Linked DNA regions of Homo sapiens: all the other regions are linked to region 3. Evidence: promoter capture Hi-C in 16 types of primary human blood cells and fetal thymus (Javierre and others, 2016). All regions are on one chromosome and are shown on one strand. The core of a region is centred on a gene start or on the middle of the fragment in contact, and the rest is flanking DNA. Distances in the headings are between cores, read along the strand shown. Region 1 has its middle 28 kb from the start of LRRC8C-DT. Region 2 has its middle 55 kb from the start of LRRC8B. Region 3 holds the start of GBP4 (guanylate binding protein 4).

Evidence for each region. Contacts are between HindIII fragments. The CHiCAGO score rates a contact against its expected background, and 5 or more counts as called.
Region 1: a contact is called between a fragment that was not itself captured here and the fragment with the promoter of GBP4 in region 3, in 1 of 17 cell types (activated CD4 T cells). The highest score is 7.1, in activated CD4 T cells.
Region 2: a fragment that was not itself captured here is called in contact with the fragment with the promoter of GBP4 in region 3 in 1 of 17 cell types (activated CD4 T cells); the score reaches 6.9 in activated CD4 T cells.

Annotation. Positions count from the first base shown.
Region 1 is chr1:89,603,768-89,606,485 of GRCh38, forward strand. No RefSeq gene overlaps it. Among named protein-coding and RNA genes, the nearest start is that of LRRC8C-DT, 28 kb to the right of the region's middle. The HindIII fragment of the contact is 984 bases long and covers 953-1,936 here.
Region 2 is chr1:89,467,909-89,470,866 of GRCh38, forward strand. No RefSeq gene overlaps it. Among named protein-coding and RNA genes, the nearest start is that of LRRC8B, 55 kb to the right of the region's middle. The HindIII fragment of the contact is 4,080 bases long and covers 1-2,958 here.
Region 3 is chr1:89,197,554-89,200,386 of GRCh38, forward strand. It overlaps GBP4 (guanylate binding protein 4), which reads right to left and starts at 1,389. Exons shown (of 11, transcript NM_052941.5): 1 at 1,242-1,389. The coding sequence starts at 1,281. It overlaps LOC107985076 (a long non-coding RNA gene), which reads left to right and starts at 794. Exons shown (of 3, transcript XR_002958332.2): 1 at 794-855; 2 at 950-1,505. RefSeq lists a silencer at 1,193-1,487. The HindIII fragment of the contact is 3,654 bases long and covers 1,223-2,833 here.

The DNA of each region.
Region 1 (2,718 bases), core at 195-2,694, 410 kb after region 3:
GGTGGGCTTGGATGCTCGCTAGCTGGCCTTCCAACTCCAATATTCTGATCTACATAAAATGCTGAGTGAGTGGGAAGTGTTGATCATGTTTAATACTGAGTAATTTTCTTAAGAACTTGAGTATGTCATACATTTCTTTTTTCAGCTTTGGAAATGATTCACTTTTATGACACATGAATAAGACTTTTATTCACTAAAGAACCTCAAGCATAATAGCAAGTGAAGGAGGATGGAATTATCTTAAAGGGCTGTTCTGCAGTGCCTCCCCGTCAGGAGAGCCAAGTAGACAGTGAAGAGAAGCTATTTAGGGCAGTACAGTTAGAAACATTCCCAGCAGGGCCTTCACAATGCTCAGGTTACAATTCCCAGTTAAGAGAAATGTCCTGAGGTTGCACAGGTATAAAGGTGACCTGTGAGGTACTTGGCTGTCTTGGGCTTTAACACCAAAATTTGAAAGCTGAGGCTGACCCTTTATCACTGGCTTTCCTCCCAGAGTCTGACCTAGGGCAAATAGATGCCTGACAGTTTTAAGTTCTCCAGTTTCTGTTCAGCTGAGACCTGAGTGTCAGGTCAGCTAACAGGCTCCCCGTTGGAGAAACATGACTCTAGGTTTCAGTGCACTGAGAGATGTTAACTTCTGCCTGGTCTTAGGGTACAGCCCCACCTGGGTGCCAGCTCCAAGGGCAGACTATGCGCTCACCAGGTTCATCTGATAATGCAGTGGGCAGACATAGCTATGTGCTGTTCACTTGCTCTGTGCCCTCATGCCCAGTCTAAGACTGTCCAAGGCCCGGCCTAGTCTCTGCTTTATCTGGAAGAAGACAAGAGCATTTTCCTGGACTGACAGCCCAGAAGGTACTCATCTCCAACCTGGATCAGAGCCCTATTTTCACCAGTAACTCTTGAGTCATCTTGTACCTCTGAGCCTCAGCTTCCTCGTCTGTAAAATGTAAGCTTTATTTTATAAATATTGAGTGTCTGCTACTTACCCAGATGCTGCCTAAGGTATTGTGAATACAGTGGGGGACAGCAGGGACAAATAAGACCCACTCCTCATAGAAACAAACCTCATAAGATCTTAAGAGGATTCCACGAGATAATATGTGTAAAATGTTAGCATCTTGTCTGACCCTAGTGGTTGCTTTCTACGTTAGCTTTAATGAGTTTTCCTCCAAAGATGATAGAAAATATTTCAAAGTATGTCCTTTCCTGCCTTGGTCTGTGCACATGCATTTCTGCCAAAAAGGCTCTTCCTTAATTCCTATGCCTAGCTAACTCCTGTTCATCCAGTTCTCAGTATAAATGGTCACTTCTTCAAGGTGGCATTTTTCTGACCAGTCCATCCTTAGATCCCCCTGTTGTTTGTTCCCAGGGCAACTGGTACTATACTTTGAGGTATCCATCCTCTTGATAACTATGACTTATTTAGTGTCTGTTTCCCTGACTAGACTGTAAAGCTAGTGTAAACAGCATCCATGTTCACCAGAAATCTTGATGCTGAGCTTTGAGATTCTGCATAAACATCTGACCATCTTGCTGATATTTGAAGGGAATGTTCCCTTTCACATGAGAAAATTACATTGGACCAGAAAAGAAGAATCTGGCCCACCAGGAGCACATGGGTCCTTTCTTCCCTCTTTTCTCTCTCCTACCATGAAGAGGAGGGACGGCCAAGAAATGGCTGAAGAAAGGCCATTCCCAGGGCTGTACCCACATCTCTTAGAAGTAGCAGGTAGTCAGGGAACATAGGATGGAGAGTTGGGTTCCCCATTGTTCACAGGAACTTACCCAGTACCCATTCAAGGACCTACTGGGAATGGGGCAGTAAGGGTCTTCTTTGATACCATCTGCCACAGCCACACCCTTGTCCGTTCTCACCACAGCCAGGCAGCATGACTTAAAGGAGGTCTTGTTTCTTGTAACTATAGATAGTAGAAGCTTGATAAAATGAAATCTAAGGTCATAAGACTGGAATGGTGTCAGCCGCAGAAACGTCTCTGTCACCTTGTGTGAAAGATGCCCCCAGCCTCAGTACCTTTTGGAAGAGACCTTGGCAAAAATACAGCTGTTTACATGTGACTCACCAGAAATGTGAATGTTCTTGCCCTTTTGTGCCCTGTGGGATTTAACAAAGCAGCAATGTGACCTGACCCCAGTGGTTTTCTTTTGGCCAGAATCCAAGTCCTCCAGGCAGTGCTGGACTTCCCACATGCATTCCTGCCAGCCCACTATATGGAACTACAGGGCAGTCCTCTCTGCCAAGCCTTTCTAACCTCTATGTCTTTGTCCAGGCTGTTCCCTCAACCAGAAGTTCCTTTTTTCCATACATACACATATGAATAAACCTCAATTCATTCTTCAAGACTAAGATGATATCACTCTATAACTCCTCTAATCACCCTCTTTCCCCAAATTGGAGTTAGTTATTCTGAACCCTTATACCAATGTAGTGAGGTTATGGATTTCCCGCTCAGTCATCTGAAGGCAGAAACCAAATCTCGTTCATATTTGTGTCCCCTTCCACTAATATAGTATCTGCACCTATAATTTGTTACAGTATTCTACACTGTAGGTGCATAATGAATAAATAGCTGAAAGCTGGGCATTTGCAAGGTGTGTGCTGGCCAGTGGGTCAGCCAGGATGCCTAAGGGCAAAGGCACATGCCAGAAACCACTAATGGAGACTTTTGTGGACAAATTGTTGAAACAGTGAGAAGT
Region 2 (2,958 bases), core at 362-2,861, 270 kb after region 3:
CAGGAGATCAAGACCATCCTGGCTAACACGGTGAAACCCCGTCTCTACTAAAAATACAAAAAAAATTAGCTGGGCGTGGTGGCGGGCGCCTGTAGTCCCAGCTACTTGGGAGGCTGAGGCAGGAGAATGGCGTGAACCCAGGAGGCGGAGCTTGCAGTGAGCCGAGATAGCGCCACTGCACTCCAGCTTGGGTGACAGAGCGAGACTCCACCTCAAAAAAAAAAAAAAGATGTTTCTAAAGTGTTTTAATTAGACATTTTGAAATATGCAGGATCATTTCAACTTATTCAAGGTAATAGGAATGATTTAAATTCATATACATCCCCAAAGTTGCTTTTTCCTGATGAAGCCCTTGCCATGCACACATCCTGAAGTTGGAAGACAAAAGTTTAAGTCCTACTTCCACCATGCACTAGCTGAATGGTTAAACTCTGAGCATGCTTCCTTACTGATTGTATGAGTATAATGGTGATACCTAAAAGGTTTATTTTTTTATCAAATTCTGAAATGACTAATAAAACATTTTATGAATTATAAATATAAATTAGGACTGAATACTAATAAATGACAAAACAGACACGTTTGTTTCAAGTTCTAAAAGAAGTTATTGACATTAAAAAACAAAGAGAATACTCACATTGTACATTTCTCTGTGTTCTGTTACCATATTGAGAAAGCAAAGAAGAATATTTAGAACACTCAGTAAATGAAAGGCATGGTTTAACCTGGAATAACTGAATCTGTGAAATAATGAGGAGCTTCAAAAATTGTCTCCAGATTATTTCTCATGCTGACTCTAGCTGGAATATGTTAGTACAGTTTAGCAAAAAAAATTATGAATGCCCTGCCACATGAAGTTGACAGATAATGTTGTGTGTTAGAGAAACTATAAAGATGAATAAGGTAAAATTTCTGTCTTCAAGAGCAAAGAGTAATGAAGGTCTTAGTTATGCATTATCAGCTGGGATAGTTGGCTCCAAAATTATTTACCCCTTACCTCTCTCTCATTATCTCCCTCTCTCTTTCTCTCTCTCCCTCTCTCTCGTTATACATCTGCATATATTAAATCTATGCATGTATACATGAACAATTGAATATATGCTCATACATATTCTTAACAGCCTCTAGAATCATTCCTTGCAAAATTACATATTTTTGTCTCATTCCTTCTATTTTAGTAAAGGGCATCATCATCAACCTGGCTGTTTAAACTACAGGGAGCCTAGGAAAATACAAGTTAAAATAACTATTATGTTATAAATGTGCTTGAAATCATAAGGGAAGATAATAATAATAGTTCATAATAATTGAATGCTTATAGACCTTATATTGCCCATCTCATTGCAGCTTCAGAACAATGCTGATGGGGTGGTAACAAACCACCCCAAGCTATATATAATAGGTAACCGAAACACCTAGAAAACTGGTTCCCATACTATATTTCACATTGAGCTACAGGAGCAAAAGCCATGAATGTATAATCACTTGCTCAGTTTTTTAATCAAGTTGAAGCTAAATAACAACATCTTATTGTTTGCAGCTTTGTGGTGACTATAAATCTTTTGTTAATATAATGCCGGTAGTGATTTATTTTTGCTGTTTAAATTCATAAATTGCAGGATTCTAGGCAAACATCGCACTTACCCCTCAAGGGTAATATACCAAATTTTAAAAGGTTATGATAAAAATCCTGAGTCTTTCAAGAGATATGACTGAAAAACTGGGATACCTAAACAAATTATAAATAGAAAATGATTCATCTCGAAGTCTTTTTCAGTTTATTTAGTTTAAAACATCATAAATTAAATTTAGTGAAGCTGGAGAGTTTGAGAAAAAGAATAAGAAAAGACAAACAAAAATCAGAAATTGTTTTACAATAGCTGGAGACAGAGTGAGATTAATTTTTTTATTTTAATTCGTGCCAACCTGGGAAAGAGATGAATAAATGAGCTCCAAAACCTACCTTCATCCACAGAGTGGGCATTCATTTTTACCTTCTCCTCCACTAAAGTTAAACAAGAGCTACTTAGGTGAGCAGTATTTCCCTGGGCTGCATTCCAAATTCCAACCAACCTTCCATGGTCATCTGGTGAAATTAGAAATGGCCAGAATATAGACAAAACCAAAGACTAAGAAAGATTCCTGAATATTAAGAGACATTTTAAATGCACAAAATGTTTACTCCAAAAACCTCTGCAGAAATTCTGGAAATAAAAGCCTTCTGTCTGCCTCATATGTCACTCTATTTATCTTTAGAGCTGATGGTTGACTAGGATGGTTTGAGAGTCCTGTCTCCTCTAAGTCTCATGTATTGCTGCCAGTGCTACGAGGTCAACCCATGAGGACAATATTCCTCTCCAAGCATACATGAGTAACTGCAGTTCCCTAAACTTTTCTTCTCTAAAAAAGGTCTATTTGTATCAGAGTATTCAGGAAATATCTTGAAATTCTATTAAATGACAAGGAACCTCACATTCCAAAAATCTCTAGCTTTTTGACCCTTCCAAATCTATTTATGTATTAATCTAACAAACCTAAGTGATATAACAAATTTAAGAAATAATCAATGTATGCCCTAAGCTCTGAGCTAGAAAACAAATGTTAAAAGTAAAGAAAACATGGACACAGGGAGGGGAAAATTACACACTGGGGCCTGTTGGGGGGTGGGGGTCTAGGGCAGGGATATTATTAGGAGAAATATGTAATGTAGACGACGGATTGTTGGATGCAGCAAACCATCATGGCATGTGTATACCTATGTAACTAACCTGCACATTCTGCACATATATCCCAGAACTTAAGGTATAATAATAAAAAAAAAGAAAAAAATGAGACAATGAACTTTCTAAAAAATAAAGAAAAGCAAAGAAATTTGCCAACTATATAAATCTTTATCTGTAAAATTAATTATTTAGATAAGAATCTCAATCATTACAATCAGCACAAAAAGTGATTTTG
Region 3 (2,833 bases), core at 139-2,638:
ATTATTTATGATTCTTACAAGAACGCTAAAAATGCCTTGTCAAGGTGATGCATAAAATAAACAGAATTAGAAAATCAAGGCACTGATGGCAGAATAATTCCACTCCTGGAATAAATAGGGGCAGGATGTTACAAAAAGGAGATGAGGAGTGGTTAGAAAAGGCTCCAGGCATTCCAGAAGAATTTGCTCTCTCATTAATTTAATAAAGAGTATTGCGTACCTACCATGTGCTAATTAACACCGTTCTAGATTCTCAGCAACAAGCAAGGAACATAATTGATACAAACTTCTGCCTCTTGGAGCTCTATTTGTTGTAACCCAGCGAGTTACAGAGAAACGCCACACTCTGAGACGAATTCAGGAGTCCTTTATTAGCCGGCGACCGAGAGACGGCTAGTGCTCAAAATTCTCTCGGCCCGAAGAAGGGGCTAGATTTTCTTCTATACTTTGGTTTAGAAAGGAGAGGTTGGGGGGAGGGGTCTAGTTAAAACAATCCTACAGAAGTAAAGTAGGCAAAAAGTTAAAAGGATAAATGGTTACAGGAAAGTAAACAGTACTAGGTGCAGGGGCTTTAATTCTATCACAAGGTGATAGAAGCGGGGCTTTGGGCTTTATCAACCAGACACAAACGCGGGGGGCTCTGGGTGCTGTTAACCGGGCGAATTCCTGGGAACTGCGGGTATGGCTTGCCACAGTACCTTATCAGTTAATTGCATTCTTGGATGTGCTGGGAGTCAGCTTGCACAAGTTAAGTCCCTGAGGAAGCGGGTGGGTAAGGGGCTGCAAGTGAAGGAGCCGAGATGCAGACTGTCTGGCTCTTTCAGCTAAGGGAGAGTCAACTCAGGTTAAAACAAGGTAGGGTATCACATATTCTAGTGGGGGACAGAAAATTAATAAAACAAACAAGCAAAAAATGTGTATATGTATACTAGATGATGGTATTTCGCAGGAGAAAATGCCACAGCTCTGGGAGGAAGCCCGAGGAGGAGCAGCGCATCCTGGAGACACCGGTGCGCCTCTGGTCGCCGCCTGTGGACCGTCTAGAGACGCTGGGCCACACGGAGCAAAGCACTCAGGGGTTCAAGCAGCATCAGACTTCCCCGCGAGGTTCCTCCACTGCCTTTGTCACCCGCCAGTGTGAAGTCTCCAACCCTCCCCGTGTGCAGTCTGCGCTTGGGAATTTGTTGTTGTTTGTTATAACCCAAATATACTTGAAAGGTAAAGCTTAAGAGCAAACTTACCTGGTGTGGGCACTGCAGCGTGAAGAGTTCTCTCACCCATTGCTCTGTCCTCCTGCGCCTGGATCCTCGAGAAACGGACTGTTCTTAGAAGCTGAAAGTCCAGCCGGATTTACAGACATCCAAGTAAGAGTCTGTGAGAACCGAAATTGAAAGGACATGCACTTTGTGGGGAGTTGACTGTTGGGGATTTTCCTGTTTATCAAGACAGGAAACTAAAGGAGCTTGAAAGTGCTGGTTCCTCCACACCAGACTCCTGAAACTCAGGTTTGTTTGTCCCTCTTCCACCCTTAGCTTAGGTATCTTTCGCCTCCAAAATGAATATAGAGCAGCAGACATGAATGTTGTTTCATCTACCTGTCTCTCAGGGGTAATTTTGTCAGGGAAGAAATTTGAGTTTTTGTTTGCTTTTATTTTTTTTTACATGCTTATATGTTTCTGTTTCTCATCTCTTTTCTTTATTTTTTCATTAACCATAAAATATGTGTGTGTTTGTGTGTGTGTCTATGGATATCTATGTATCCTCTAACGTTGTTGCCCAGAGGTGCGGTGGTGGCAAGTAAATACTTCTCTTTCAAAACACAAACATCTCATTGAAACTGGATCTTTTGGAGGACAGGAGGATGATTGGACCATAAAAAGCATAATTTATAATTAGGAGTCTTACCCAGGCTACCAGAAAAATGGACTCAGTTCCTAAAATGACTAGCCAGTTTGTTAACAGAGTTTGGGAAATCTATCTGAAATAAATGGGTAATGATTCCCCATTTGTGCCTATCCCTTAGATCTTCCTATTTGTTTAGTAATGTCTGATTAAACATTTGCAAATTAATAAGTACAAAATTTTAGGCACTTAATCAGGTAAAATTACTGGTGCCGATTTTGATTCAAAACTTAACATTTATTTCCTATAAGCAATATTGAAAGTGAAAATAAAGCTAAGTCAAGTTTTAAATAGGACCAGTAATAAGAAATCAGGTGCTTTTTTCTCTTACCATTTTTTAATGTCAGGAAGTCCCTCTCTCTTAAAAAAAAAAAAAAAGAAGAAGAAGAAAAAGTACAGGGATGACTGAATCCAGGTAAATGTGTTTGAAACACCTGAATTTCACCAGTGGCACCCCTTTCCAGATAATCCAATGTTACTGACTTCAGATAATCATGGAAATGTTAATCAAGAAGAAATTTAGGCTGGGTGTGGTGGCTCACTCCTGCAATCCAACCATTTTGGGAGGCCAAGGTGGGCAGATCACTTGAGTCCAGGAATTGGAAACCAGCCTGGGCAATATGGGGAAACCCCATCTCTACAAATAATAATAATAATAAATTAGCTGGGCATAATGGCATGTGCCTGTTATAATAGTCCTAGTTACCTGGGAGTCTGAGGTGGGAGGATGACCTGAGCCCAGGAGGTCAAGGCTGCAATGAGCCATGGTGGTCCCACTGCACTCCAACCTGGGCAACAGAGTGAGATACTGTCTCAAAAAAAATTGTTAATTCACAGTTGTATGTATAATGATTGCACATAGCAATATGTCTATGCACATAGAAAATATACATAGCAATATGTCTGTGTTACACAGATAAAAGTCTATAAG